Linked DNA regions of Homo sapiens: region 2 is linked to region 1. The links are contacts of gene promoters, found by promoter capture Hi-C in blood cells and fetal thymus (Javierre and others, 2016). All regions are on one chromosome and are shown on one strand. The core of a region is centred on a gene start or on the middle of the fragment in contact, and the rest is flanking DNA. Distances in the headings are between cores, read along the strand shown.

Evidence for each region. Contacts are between HindIII fragments. The CHiCAGO score rates a contact against its expected background, and 5 or more counts as called.
Region 2: a contact is called between the fragment with the promoter of CHST7 here and the fragment with the promoter of LINC01545 in region 1, in 3 of 17 cell types (neutrophils, M0 macrophages and erythroblasts). The highest score is 5.8, in neutrophils.

Annotation. Positions count from the first base shown.
Region 1 is chrX:46,897,803-46,904,428 of GRCh38, forward strand. LINC01545 (long intergenic non-protein coding RNA 1545) reads right to left here and starts at 1,902. Exons shown (of 4, transcript NR_046101.1): 1 at 1,802-1,902. RefSeq lists an enhancer at 6,150-6,409. The HindIII fragment of the contact is 5,808 bases long and covers 1-5,485 here.
Region 2 is chrX:46,570,943-46,576,955 of GRCh38, forward strand. CHST7 (carbohydrate sulfotransferase 7) reads left to right here and starts at 2,823. Exons shown (of 2, transcript NM_019886.4): 1 at 2,823-4,481. The coding sequence starts at 2,990. The coding sequence ends at 4,450. RefSeq lists silencers at 3,841-3,890, 4,011-4,070. The HindIII fragment of the contact is 5,347 bases long and covers 1,053-6,013 here.

The DNA.
Region 1 (6,626 bases), core at 652-3,151:
CAAACTCCAATGCCCTAAGCTGGGGAGCATCCCCCTCCACCACCACCACCACGTGTGGATACCCCCTTATCCTGTTTGAGCTTTGATGTTTGATGCCCGCACAAGGTCACTTTAGGAGGATTCTCTCTAAGTACTCCTTGGTCTCTGATACCCCATACCTGACTATCTCCACTGGACAAAATAGGTTCTTGAGTCAAGCACTAAGTAAGGAATATGAAGATTTCATAATTTGTGTGCAGTTTCAGATAAATTCTTTCCAAAGTTAGGAGAAGTAAGAATAAAATATGTAACTGGAATCAGTTGCTACCTAAAGATGTCTTTTTTTAAACCTCACCATGGTACCTGGGGTTAGAAGCAATGCTTTGTTTACTCTTTTTAAAAAGCAACAGAATGGGAATATTGTAGTAAATCTCTGGGGGAATTCCTGTCTTCACACCAAAAATAGTTGTTATTCTCTTAGTTGGTTTGGTTTTATCTCATGGACATTTTGAAGTATATATTTTTTCTTATTTTTTTCCAATTTTTGAGCCACATACATTTTATAGACTACTATTCATTTTTAATCTGTTTCCTTTTTTCTTTTTCACTTTCTCCTTTTCTCTCCTACTCTTTTTTATTTTCCTTCTTTACTTTCTCTTTTTTCCTGCCAATTTTAGTTTTTATCTTTGTGCTGTATTTAATTGTATCATCACAGGCCACATTAAATCATTTCTGGAAGATCAGTTTTAAATAAATAGATGAATAAAAAAATAGCAGTTAAAAAAAGGGAGAGAAAAGATTTAAGAACATTTCTAAAAGTAACCCCAAAATTTCTTCAGGGGGATAAAAAGTGGGATGATTTGGGAGGTCGAGGTGAGAGGATTAGCTGAGACCAGGAGTTTGAGACCAGCTTGGACAAGACGGCAAGATCCTGTCTCTACAAAAAAAAAAAAAAAAAAAAAAAAATTTAATTAGCTGGGCATAATGGCATGTACCTATAGTCCTAGCTACTTGGGAGGCTGAGGCAGGAAGATCACTTGAGCCCAGGAGTTCAAGGTTACAGTAAGCTATGATCACACCACTGCACTCCAGCCTAGGCGACCCTGTCTCAAAAACAAAAATGAAACAGTGGAATGAAATCATTTGGGTAATGTCTCCCAGACAAGTAAAGTATTCCCAAGAAATTTCTGAAGGAATTAAGGAAAATTATTGATGTTATGATTAAAAAACAAACAAACAAACTGGTTCTACTATAGAATAATAGACATTGGCAACTCAGAAGGATGGGAGGGTGGTGAGGAATAAGAAATTACTTAATGGGTACAATGTATATTATTCAGGTGATGGTTATGCTAAAAGCCTGGACGTTACAACTATGCATTATATCCACGTAACAAAACTGCACTTTTACCCCTTAAATGTACACAAATTTTTTGAAAACTGGTTCTTGCACCTCAACAGACACATAGGATTTATGAATGGACTTGGATAGAGCATAGAGGAAGGCCTGGAGCAGTTTTCATGGGCTTTTGTCTCCTATGGCCCTGGTGCGTCTATCTTCAGGAAGCTAAATACAGAGGCTTCTGAGAATTCACTTAGATGATGGTTCCCAAGAGGAACAACTCTCTCCTAAGCCACACATGGGGCAGTTTACTTCTAATATGGAAAATTATGGGTCGGGCATGGTGGCTCATGCTTGTAATCCCAGTACTTTGGGAGGCCAAGGCGGGCAGATCACTTGAGGTCAGGAGTTCAAGACCAGCCTGGCCAACATGGCAAAACCCTGTCTCTACAAAAATTAGCCAGGCATGGTGGCGTGCACCTGGGAGGCTGAGGCAGGAGAATTGCTTGAATCCAGGAGGCAGAGGTTGCAGTGAGCTGAGATCGCACCACCGCACTCTAGTCTGGGCGACAGAGCAAGACTTCATCTAAAAAAAAGAAAGAAAAGAAAGAAAGAAAATTATGGATAGTCTCTGAAGCTGAGCATTCTCTGGAGTCAGACACTTTCTTAATCCCTTTTGAAATTTCTGATGGAGAAAAATCCAATCCAAAGAAAGAATATGAAATCCAGGGAAAATTAGTTTTTTTTTCTTAAGTGCATATAAGTTATGGATTTATATATAAAATAAAGATAGTGATTGTATCAGTCAGGATTCTAACAGAGAAACAGAACCATTAGGAGACACATGTAGATATAGATATAGATATAGGTATAGATATAGATGAACTGGCTTATGTGATTGTGGTGGCTAGCTAGGCAAGCCTGAAATCTGAAATCCTTAGAGCAGGCCATCAGAAAGGACAGGCAGGAGTTCTCGAGCACAAGCCAATGCTGCTGTCTATGGGCAGAATTTCTTCTTCAGGAAAGCCTCCATTCTGCTATTAAGGCCTTTAACTGATTGATTCAGGCCCACCAGATTATCTAGGATAATCTTGTTTACATAAAGTCAACTGATTATAGACTTGATTCACATCTACAAAATACCTCTCAGCACCACCTAGATTAGATTTTAATGGAATAACTGGCTTATGTTAGCCAGTTATAAACTAGGGACTATAGCCTAGCTATGTTAACACATAAAACTGACCATTACAGGCCAGGTGCACAGTGGCTCATGCCTATAACCCCAGCACTTTGGGAGGCTGAAGCGGGCGGGTCACTTGAGACCAGGAGTTCGAGACCAGCCTGGCCTCAAGGCTGGTGAAACCTCGTCTCTACTAATAATACAAAAATTAGCCAGACGTGGTGGTGAGTGCCTGTAATCCCAGCTACTTGAGAGGCTGAGGCAGGAGAATCACTTGAATCCAGCAAGTGGAGGTTGCAGTGAGCCGAGATCACACCACCATACTCCAGCCTAGGCAACAGAGTAAGACTCCGTCTCAAAACAAAACAAAACAAAAAACAAAACTGACCACTACAGTGATGTTTGGTGTTTCATTTTGATTTTAACTTCCATCAGTGAACATTTTGTTCTTTGTGAAAATAAATCACAAGCTAAGATAGGCTTCTATGGAGAGAGTGTCAATATTACGGATCCATGGCATCAGTTGTAACATGTATTTGGTCTATGAAGGTCATTAGCCATCTGGTAAAAGGAAGCTATACTGATTATAACTCACTCATTGGGTGTATGCTATTACCTAATTCCACTAAACTGTTTTCCGTTCATTGATTTAAAAAGTTAGTTATTCAATTCAATTGAAGTTAACACCTGAGAAGGATTTCAAAGAACAGATGTGTATTTCATTTGTAGAAATCATTTTCTCATGTCACAAATGTTTAATGAATCCACTCTCCCTTGAGTTAGAAATGGTAGGTGCTTTGAAATACTTGAACCTACACAAGAGCAGAAAGCATTTTATTTTGAAGTGTGCCTACTGTCCAGTAATAATGTTGGACAAGTTATTTTCTCTCTGAGCCTTAGTTTGCTTACCTGTAAAATGGGAAATAATGATTATTGTCTTGAGGGCTTGGGAAGGATTAGATGAGAAAACATAAGTTAGACACTTGAAACACAGTAGATGTTCCACAAATATTGATTTTTTTTGCCTCCTTCTATGAATACAGACTTCATAAGTGAAGTCCTATGAGTTAAAAGTCCTCTCCAATTTTTTTGCAGATTCTATCTAGCAGCACTATTTTGGATATCACTGTGTAGCGAAGAATCAAGTGAGGTTTCCAGTGCTCATTAATTTATCAAATTGACTATAAAGATTCACTGTAGGTGGCTTTGTATTTACTTATGTGCATAGGGAGACCATTTTTACATGTTATCACTTCAACAATAAATACAGATAAAGTTGCTGGAGTTTACAATTGCTTTTTATTTGAAAAATCAGCAATTTTCCTAATTTTATCTGAAAATGTTCTTCGGAGTCATGGTGGTGAAATTCTGAGCAAATATTAGGTGTCACTAGTTTTCAAGAGTGTGAAATAATTTTTGATTGAGAAAAAAGCATATCTTAAATTCTGTTCAATATCAGACTCACATGTCTTGGCAAATGCACACATTGTTTTTGTTTCATTATTAATTTTTTTTTTTGAGATGGAGTCTCGCTCTGTTGCCAGGCTGGAGTGCAGTGGCATGATCTCTGCTCACTGCAGCCTCCGCCTCCCTGGTTCAAGTGACTCTCCTGCCTCAGCCTCCCAAGTAGCTAGGACTACAGGCACGCGCCACCACGCCCGGCTAATTTTTGTATTTTTAGTAGAGACGGGGTTTCACCATGTTGGTGAAACCACCAGGATGGTCTCGATCTCCTGACCTTGTGATCCGCCCACCTCGGCCTCCCAAAGTGCTGGGATTACAGGCATGAGCCACTGTGCCCAGCTATTAATTGTTAATTACACAAATAATACAGGGTTTTGTTTTTTTTTTACATGAAAAAATTGGAGATAAATCTAAAATCTTCTTCAATCCCCACTCCCATTGGGAACTACAATTATCAGTTTGGTCTGTATCCTTCCAGAGCATTTGTGTATGGATTTACATAGGTATTACTGTGCACAGACAAAGTAACTCATGGAAAGTAGGTATTTTACTTGTCTAAGGAAAATTGGGCCAGTTATTGATTTTTATCATATGAAATTTGGCGTGATGGGCAAGAAAGAGATTGGAGAGAAAGGAGAAAAAGGAAGGGAGGTCTTGCCAAGATTGATCTTTTACTTCTTTATAGTTCTTTGGCCTTTTCTTTTTTGGTTCCTTGAGCCCATTTTAGGTGAGTTACACTATCAGAGTGTTTCAGCAGTTTAAAGCTCTTGCATCCAGTTTCATCAACCAGTGGCTCAACAAAGACAGATAAATAATCCCCTATACTTTCTGAAAGTATCTTTCCACCAAAGTCCAAGCATTATCAGTTTCATTTTATGAATGAAAAAAAGAAAAAAAAAGGGAAAAAAAAAAGAGGCCAGGTGCGGTGGCTCATGCCCGTAATCTCAGCAATTTGGGAGGCTGAGGCAGGTGGATCACTTCAGCTCAGAAGTTTGAGAGCAGCCTGGCCAACATGGTGAAACTCCATCTCTACTAAAAATACAAAAATTAGCCAGGTGTGATGACGCACACCTGTAATCCCTACTCAGGAGGCTGAGGCACGAGAATCACTTGAGCCCGGGAGGTGTAAATTCTTTGTGTTTTCCAACTGAAACTGAAAACTTTATCTGTTAATTATTTCATTAATTTTTCTCTCTTTTTTTCGAGACAGAGTTTCACTCTGTCACCCAGGCTGGAGTACAGTGGCATGATCTCTGCTCACTGCAACCTCCACCTCCCAGGTTCAAGCAATTCTCCTGCCTCAGCCTCCCAAGTAGCTGGGATTACCCGCGCTTGCCACCATGCCTGGCTAATTTTTGTATTTTTAGTAGAGACGAGGTTTTGCCATGTTGGCTAGGCTGGTCTCGAACTCCTGACCTCAAGTGATCCGCCTGCCTTGGCCTCCCAAATTGCTGGGATTACAGGCGTGAGCCACCGTGCCCGCCCTCATTAATTTATTTTAAAATGTAAGGTAACCAAGCTTCAAACAAGATGACATAGACCCATTTCTCTTTGCTTTTCCATGCTAAGTACAATTAAAATTCCTAAAAGTAATACAAAAGTCCATCATAAGGGGACTGGTAGGTGGAAAGAAGAAAGTGGACTGGCTAGAGACTTCAGGACTTGAGGAACGACACTGTGATGGGCTCCTGGCTTTTCTTTTTATCTTCTGTATGTTCCAGACTGGGTGCTGGAGAAGCCTGCAACCTAGAATCTCCAATCAGAGCAGACAAACAAAACAAAACAAAAACCTGTTCTTTGTGGCCAAAGGACTGGGAAAGGAGAAAAACCCAGCCCAGCATAAGTAAAACCCTGTGGACAGCACCAGCCCTACCCAAGCTGAACCCTGTGGTGTCAGCAGAGTGAGACTGAGTAGGGACTGGAAGAGCTCTGTCCCCCATTCAGTAGCCTCAGGTGGCTGGGCAAAAAGCCGCCTTCTTCCCCCATGGGAACACCAGACAGGATTGAGTGGGAGTCCCAGCGGTACCAGGGAAGCACTTTCCTACCACGCTGGGCAACAGCCAAGAGCTAGGGGGAGCCCCAGTCACACCAGGCAGCCGGAGGAGGCGTGCTCAGCCCTGCTGGCAGCATCAGCGTATACCCAGCACGGAGTCCAGACGCTTGTCCCCGACCCAGCAGCAGCAGGTAGGCAGGATTAGTACTTTCAACCCCTACCGGCCTAGCATCTCCCAACCCCTCACCCAGTGGCACCAGACGGCCCAGGGAGGCACTTTCCATCACAGGCACCATGACGGGGACCAAGTGGGGAGTCTCCCGAGCCCCATCAAGTGGCAGGCAGCTGGGAAGGTACTTTACTTTCCCACCAGTGGTGTCAGCAGAGAACTAGTGGGGAATCTGGACATCTGCTGCCCGGCTCCCAGCAGGCATCAGCAGAGGATGCAGACAGGTGCTCCCCTCCCCACTGTTGCCATGTCAGTGGAGACTGAGTGAGGAGTCTGGACTTTCACCCTTATCTGCCAGTGGCAGCTGGTGCCCCTCACCCTTCCAATTAGAGTGCAGAAGGGATCTTAGAGAGGAAGGAGCTGCAGAAAGGCATTCTTTACATCTGCATAGGAAGTCCTGGAAAGACACCTGTCTGACCCAAGCGTGAAACTAAGT
Region 2 (6,013 bases), core at 1,573-4,072, 330 kb before region 1:
CTCGGCTCACTACAATCTCCACCTCCTGGGCTCAAGTGATCCTCCCGCCTCAGCCTTCCAAGTAGTTGGGACTACAGGTGCACGCCACCATGCTTGGTTAACTTTTTTTGTGTTTTTGGTAGAGACGGGGTTTCACCATGTTGCCCAGGCTGGTCTTGAACTCCTAGGCTCAGGATACCCACCCGCGTCGGCCTCCCAAAGCGTTGGGATTACAGGTGTGAGCCACTGGGCCAGGCCCACTTTCTGCATTTTGACAGGAGCCTTCAAGCATTAAAGTTTGAGAAGCACTGGTCGAGGATCTATCTCCTTTCTCACCTGTCTGGCGGTCAGCAGGCTTGTTTGTCTGGGGGGTGGGGGGCCTCAGCTGGGAGGGCTTATTTTCTGAGCCATGTTGCTAACCCAGGCTTCTTCACGAGCCGATCTCAGGGTTCCAAAGAGCAGGATGAGGGCAATTCCCACAGCAGGAGTATTTTTCAAACCTTTGCTGTGTCATGTTTGCTACTGTCCCACAGGCCAATGCAAGCCACATGGTCATCCCAGAGTCAGTATGGGAAGGCATTGCCCAAAGGCAAAACAGAGGAGGGGAATACTTTGTGGTTATTTAAAAAACCTATCACACTTTCCACTATCAGAGTTGAGGCTTTTGGAGCGGAGGGCGGGGGGTGGGGGGAAGCGGGAAACACCAGCAACTATTTGCATTCTGCCCAGCCACACCTCTCCCCTCACACCAGCACAGAGCCACCTACTTGCTTAAAAGATGAGAGGAGGCCAGGCACAGTAGCTCAGGCCTGTAATCCCAGCACAAGGCCGAAGTGGGAGGATCACTTGAGCCCACGAGTTCAAGACCAGCCTGGGCAACATACAGACCCCGGTCTCTACAAAAAACAAACAAACAAACAAAATTAGCTGGGTGTGGTCCACATGCCTGTGGTCTCAGCTGCTTGGGAGGCTGAGGTAGGAAGATCGCTTGGGCTTGAGAGGTTGAGGCTGCAGTGAGTGGTGATAGTGCCACCGCACTCCAGCCTGGGTGACAGAGCCAGACCCTGTCTCAAAGCTTTTTAAAAAAGCCAGAGAGGAGGGAAAAGTGAAAACAGAAGGGAAAGTTGTAGATTAATATTGCAAAATCATATCCTTGCTATAAACGAGATGTGTACAGAGGTCAATGCATATATGAGTTTGGTAGTGGAAAAGTGAGAGATCGTCTAACATGGTTTCTTTATGAAGTAGGCAGTAAGGTCATGTGCTGAGAAGAGGTGGGTGGGGGAAGAGGGGTATCAGAAGTCTGAGGAGACTAGAGAAGGTTTGAAATCATCATAATGGAACTGGAGACTGGGAAGTGACATGAAGAACCTAAGATTTCAGCAACCATTTCAGGTTGATGATTATGAGGTTATCTTGATGCTGATCTGTTCTGTGGGCTCCCAAAGTGCTGAGATTACAGGCGTGAGCCACTGTGCCTGGCTCACACCTGTGGAGAAATGTTTCGCAGTGGTGTTTGCAGGCACAGAGAAAGCCAAAAGCAGGGTTTGGGGGATTTTGCTAGATGAGTAATGAAAAGGCAGAGGGCACGTGAGTTTAGCTTATTGGAGGGAGTGTTATTAAAATAATGGTATGGCATCTTTCAGCTGAATATGAAAAATTGAGAAGAAAGTGGGGGTGGTGGTCAAAAAGTGGAGGTTGGAGAATAGGGAAGATTTGAACAACTGGCTGGAAGAAGAGGGGAATTGTGGAAAGAAAACGAAATGCTTGAGTCAGTGGTTTCACAGGTGGAGTAGCTTCCGTGATGAAAAAGACCAGTGGAGAGCATTGCATATGTTCTCACTCTTCCAATTTGAACACCTTCCCCTGGTGGAGATAAGTAGATATGCTTTCTATGTTTTATTAACTTTACAACACCTTCCCCAAGCTGGTGAAAGGAAGCTCTCACTTCCTTATTCATTAGCCTGATGAAACAGAGCAAAATGTATCTTTTTTGGTTCTGTTTTGAATTTTAGTAACTCTAGTCTTCATCTGCCTGTTGGACTTCCTGTCTCTTTTTCATCTATCTTTGGGTACACATTTCTTCTTACGGGTCCTTTTAAACACCGAGCTCCTGAGAAAGGTCACCATTCTACCACTTTGATTCTGTAAATGTCTTTTGCTCATAGGTGTCAGAATAGGCTGGGTTATACTGTGGTAACAACCCCCAAATCTCGCAATCCCAGGAGGTACATGGGTACTAAGAATTATTCACATTTTACAAATGACCAAACTGGGCCCCAGAGTATTGGTAAAATGTGCAGAGCCCATCAGCTGGTGAAACCCTAAGGAACACAACACTTAGAATTTCACAAAGGCTAGACTTTATGAAATGTGCTGCGTGGATGCAGTAGTATCTCCAACCCCCCTGGACCGCTCTGCCACGTACAATCTTCTATCTTTCAGTCCGGAACTCAGTAACACCCACTCCAGGGCTGATGGGGGCGCTGGATGTATAGTGGCGAGTGTTTATCTGCCTAGGATAGCGATGGCTAGGCAGGGGACATAAAACAGAAGAGGCAGTGACCTTCTCCGGGTGGGGTCTATGGCCCTTTACTGGGTACATTCTGTACACACAGGCCCCTCCTTTGCCTGAAGTCATTGATGAAGACTTCATTACGGAGGGTTTGGGGAAAGGTGGGGGTCTGGCTGGGTAAGCCGGCGTCCCAGCCCCGCTACAGCCCCGCCCAGATCTGGCAGAGCCGTGGGCGAACCCAGGCGGGCAGAAAGGCGGGGCGGGCGGCTGCCAAGCCGGCCAATAGGCGGCTCTCCGGCTGCTAAGCCGAGAGGGCAGGGGCGCCGTCAGTAGCACCACCGCCTTCCAAGTTTCCCCTTGTGGATGCGCGGCCCCGCGGCTCTGCTCCTCCCGGCGCAGAGGGGCCGGGAGAGGCCACAGGAGCGGACCTGGCACGGGATTTCTGAGGAACGGGAGAAGACTGGCGCCCGACCCGCTCTGGAGGGTCGGTGAACGATGAAGGGCCGGCGGCGGCGACGCCGAGAGTACTGCAAGTTCGCGCTGCTGTTGGTGCTGTACACGCTGGTGCTGTTGCTCGTCCCCTCCGTATTGGACGGCGGCCGCGACGGGGACAAGGGCGCCGAGCACTGCCCCGGCCTGCAGCGCAGCCTGGGAGTGTGGAGCCTGGAGGCGGCGGCGGCCGGCGAACGCGAGCAGGGAGCGGAGGCGCGGGCCGCCGAGGAAGGGGGCGCGAACCAGTCTCCTCGGTTCCCAAGCAACCTCAGCGGCGCTGTCGGGGAGGCAGTGTCTCGCGAGAAGCAGCACATCTACGTGCATGCCACCTGGCGCACCGGCTCGTCCTTCCTGGGCGAACTCTTTAACCAGCACCCGGACGTTTTCTACTTGTATGAGCCCATGTGGCATCTATGGCAGGCGCTGTATCCGGGCGACGCCGAGAGCTTGCAGGGCGCGCTGCGCGACATGCTGCGTTCGCTCTTCCGCTGCGACTTCTCCGTGCTGCGGCTGTACGCGCCGCCGGGGGACCCCGCTGCGCGCGCCCCGGACACGGCCAATCTTACCACGGCCGCCCTCTTCCGCTGGCGGACTAACAAGGTCATCTGCTCGCCGCCACTGTGTCCTGGCGCACCCCGTGCCCGGGCCGAGGTGGGCCTCGTCGAGGACACCGCCTGCGAGCGCAGCTGCCCACCCGTGGCGATACGCGCCCTGGAGGCCGAGTGCCGAAAGTACCCGGTGGTGGTCATCAAGGACGTGCGCCTGCTCGATCTGGGCGTGCTGGTGCCCCTGTTGCGTGATCCAGGCCTCAACCTGAAGGTGGTGCAGCTTTTCCGCGACCCGAGGGCGGTGCACAACTCGCGCCTCAAGTCTAGGCAGGGACTGCTGCGCGAGAGCATCCAGGTGCTGCGCACCCGCCAGAGGGGCGACCGCTTCCACCGTGTGCTGCTGGCGCACGGCGTGGGTGCTCGCCCCGGGGGCCAGTCTCGCGCGCTGCCCGCCGCGCCGCGCGCCGATTTCTTCCTGACCGGTGCGCTCGAGGTGATCTGCGAAGCCTGGCTGCGCGATCTGCTTTTCGCGCGCGGCGCGCCCGCCTGGCTGCGGCGCCGCTACCTGAGGCTGCGCTATGAGGACCTGGTGCGGCAGCCACGCGCCCAGCTGCGCCGCCTGCTGCGCTTCTCCGGGCTACGCGCGCTCGCAGCGCTCGATGCCTTCGCGCTCAACATGACTCGCGGCGCGGCCTACGGCGCCGACCGGCCCTTCCACCTGTCAGCGCGCGACGCCCGGGAGGCGGTGCACGCCTGGCGCGAGCGCCTGAGCCGAGAGCAGGTGCGCCAGGTGGAGGCCGCCTGCGCTCCAGCCATGCGTCTGCTCGCCTACCCTCGCAGCGGAGAGGAGGGCGACGCGGAGCAGCCCAGGGAAGGGGAGACGCCGCTGGAGATGGATGCCGACGGCGCCACGTAGCCTCCCATCCCTGTCCCCGGCACGGATCCGGGTAAGGTGGCCCGGGGCAAGGCAGGGACCGGGACTGGTCTTCCGGGAGCCTGGAATGGCCTGGGGAGGGGGAAGTGTAGGGGGGAGGGTACCATGCTGGATCCCATTCTATCAGATCAGGTCCAAGAGGATGGGAAAGTCCTGCTCGTAGAATTTGGTAGATTCATCGGAATCTCCAGCTTAGCCTCGCGCCTCCTTAGAGGGAGATCCTGAGATGAGAGAGGATATTTAGGCGTGACTGAGGTGGAAGCCAGGTCTCTGCATTCCCATTCCCCTGTATGAAGTAGGAGGTTTCAGAGGGCTGAGGAGAGTAGAGAAGGTTTGAAACAGTCATAATGAGCCGTGAGACTGGGAATTGACATGTGGAGTATAGGATTTCGGAAACCATTTGAGGTTGATGATTATGGAGTTATCTTGATGCCAGTTTGTCCTGTGAGGAGACTTTGCAATGGTGTTTACAGGCACAGAGAAAGCCAAAAGCAGAGAGTTTGGTGGAAAGGCATTGATTCTAACCCTACCTATCCCTAATCTTTCTGTTTCATGTTTCTTCTCTGTCTGTTTTATGCGCAGGCTCCAGGGCTTTTCTCCTGAATTTCCAAACATGCAGGCACAGTCCAGCGGCTCTTGCAACACTTCTTGCACATTGTGTGTCTCAGGCGCTTGTGTAGTGAATAGACTTGCTTTCCCCTGGCTCATGTGCGCCTCTCTGTCTCCCCTCCCCCTCCTTCCCTCTCTCATTTCCCCTCTCCCTCTCTTCCTCTTCCTCCCCCTTCCCCTCCTCCTCTCCCTTCCCCCTTCTCCCTGTAGCTGGCGTTTGCAGGATATTTGACCATATCCCATTCACATCAGGTCACAAAAGCTGCCTGGTCAGCTTCCTCTAGTGTCGACAAGACCTCAGGGTTGGGTGTCCCCCACTCCACCCCATCCGTTTGACAGATGGAGCCTTCAATTGGCAGTAGCAGTTTGTGACTGCAGGAGGAGCTTTGTGAAAAGACACTGCCCCCTCTTTTTTGTTTTTCCATTTTTGTTTTTTGTTTTTTTCTGTATATCTGAAGATGCTAAAGTGGGGCTTAAACAGTCTCAAAATGTGTTCTGTGTGGGTCAGTGTATGGCCTGAGGGAAGGGTTTGTTCTGCACAGTGCTGACCATAGGAGTCTACTTAGTGACATGGGAGTGTGTTTCCCCAAACTTTATGTGAGTTGGAAGGGTGCCGCCTTCTGCACTGTGCAGTCAGTCCAGAGGAGGAGGAAAAGTAGTGCTGGGTGGGCGGAAGTGAGTTAAGTTTCCATTCATTATTTTATAGTGTAATTCAGCATTCCCCTGAGATGAAGCTCTGAGGACAAACGTTGAAGATATTAATGAAGAGGGATTTTGTTGTTGTTACAGAACCAGGGTTTCAGAGTGATTTCAGAAGCTGGCTAACTAATTTTTCTCCCAGTAATCAAATGGTTTTCTTAGTCAGTTTCTGAAATTGCTAGGAAGTCTGTGTTCTTTCCTGATTTCCAGAGTGATGGAAGGTAAGGCACAGGGTGA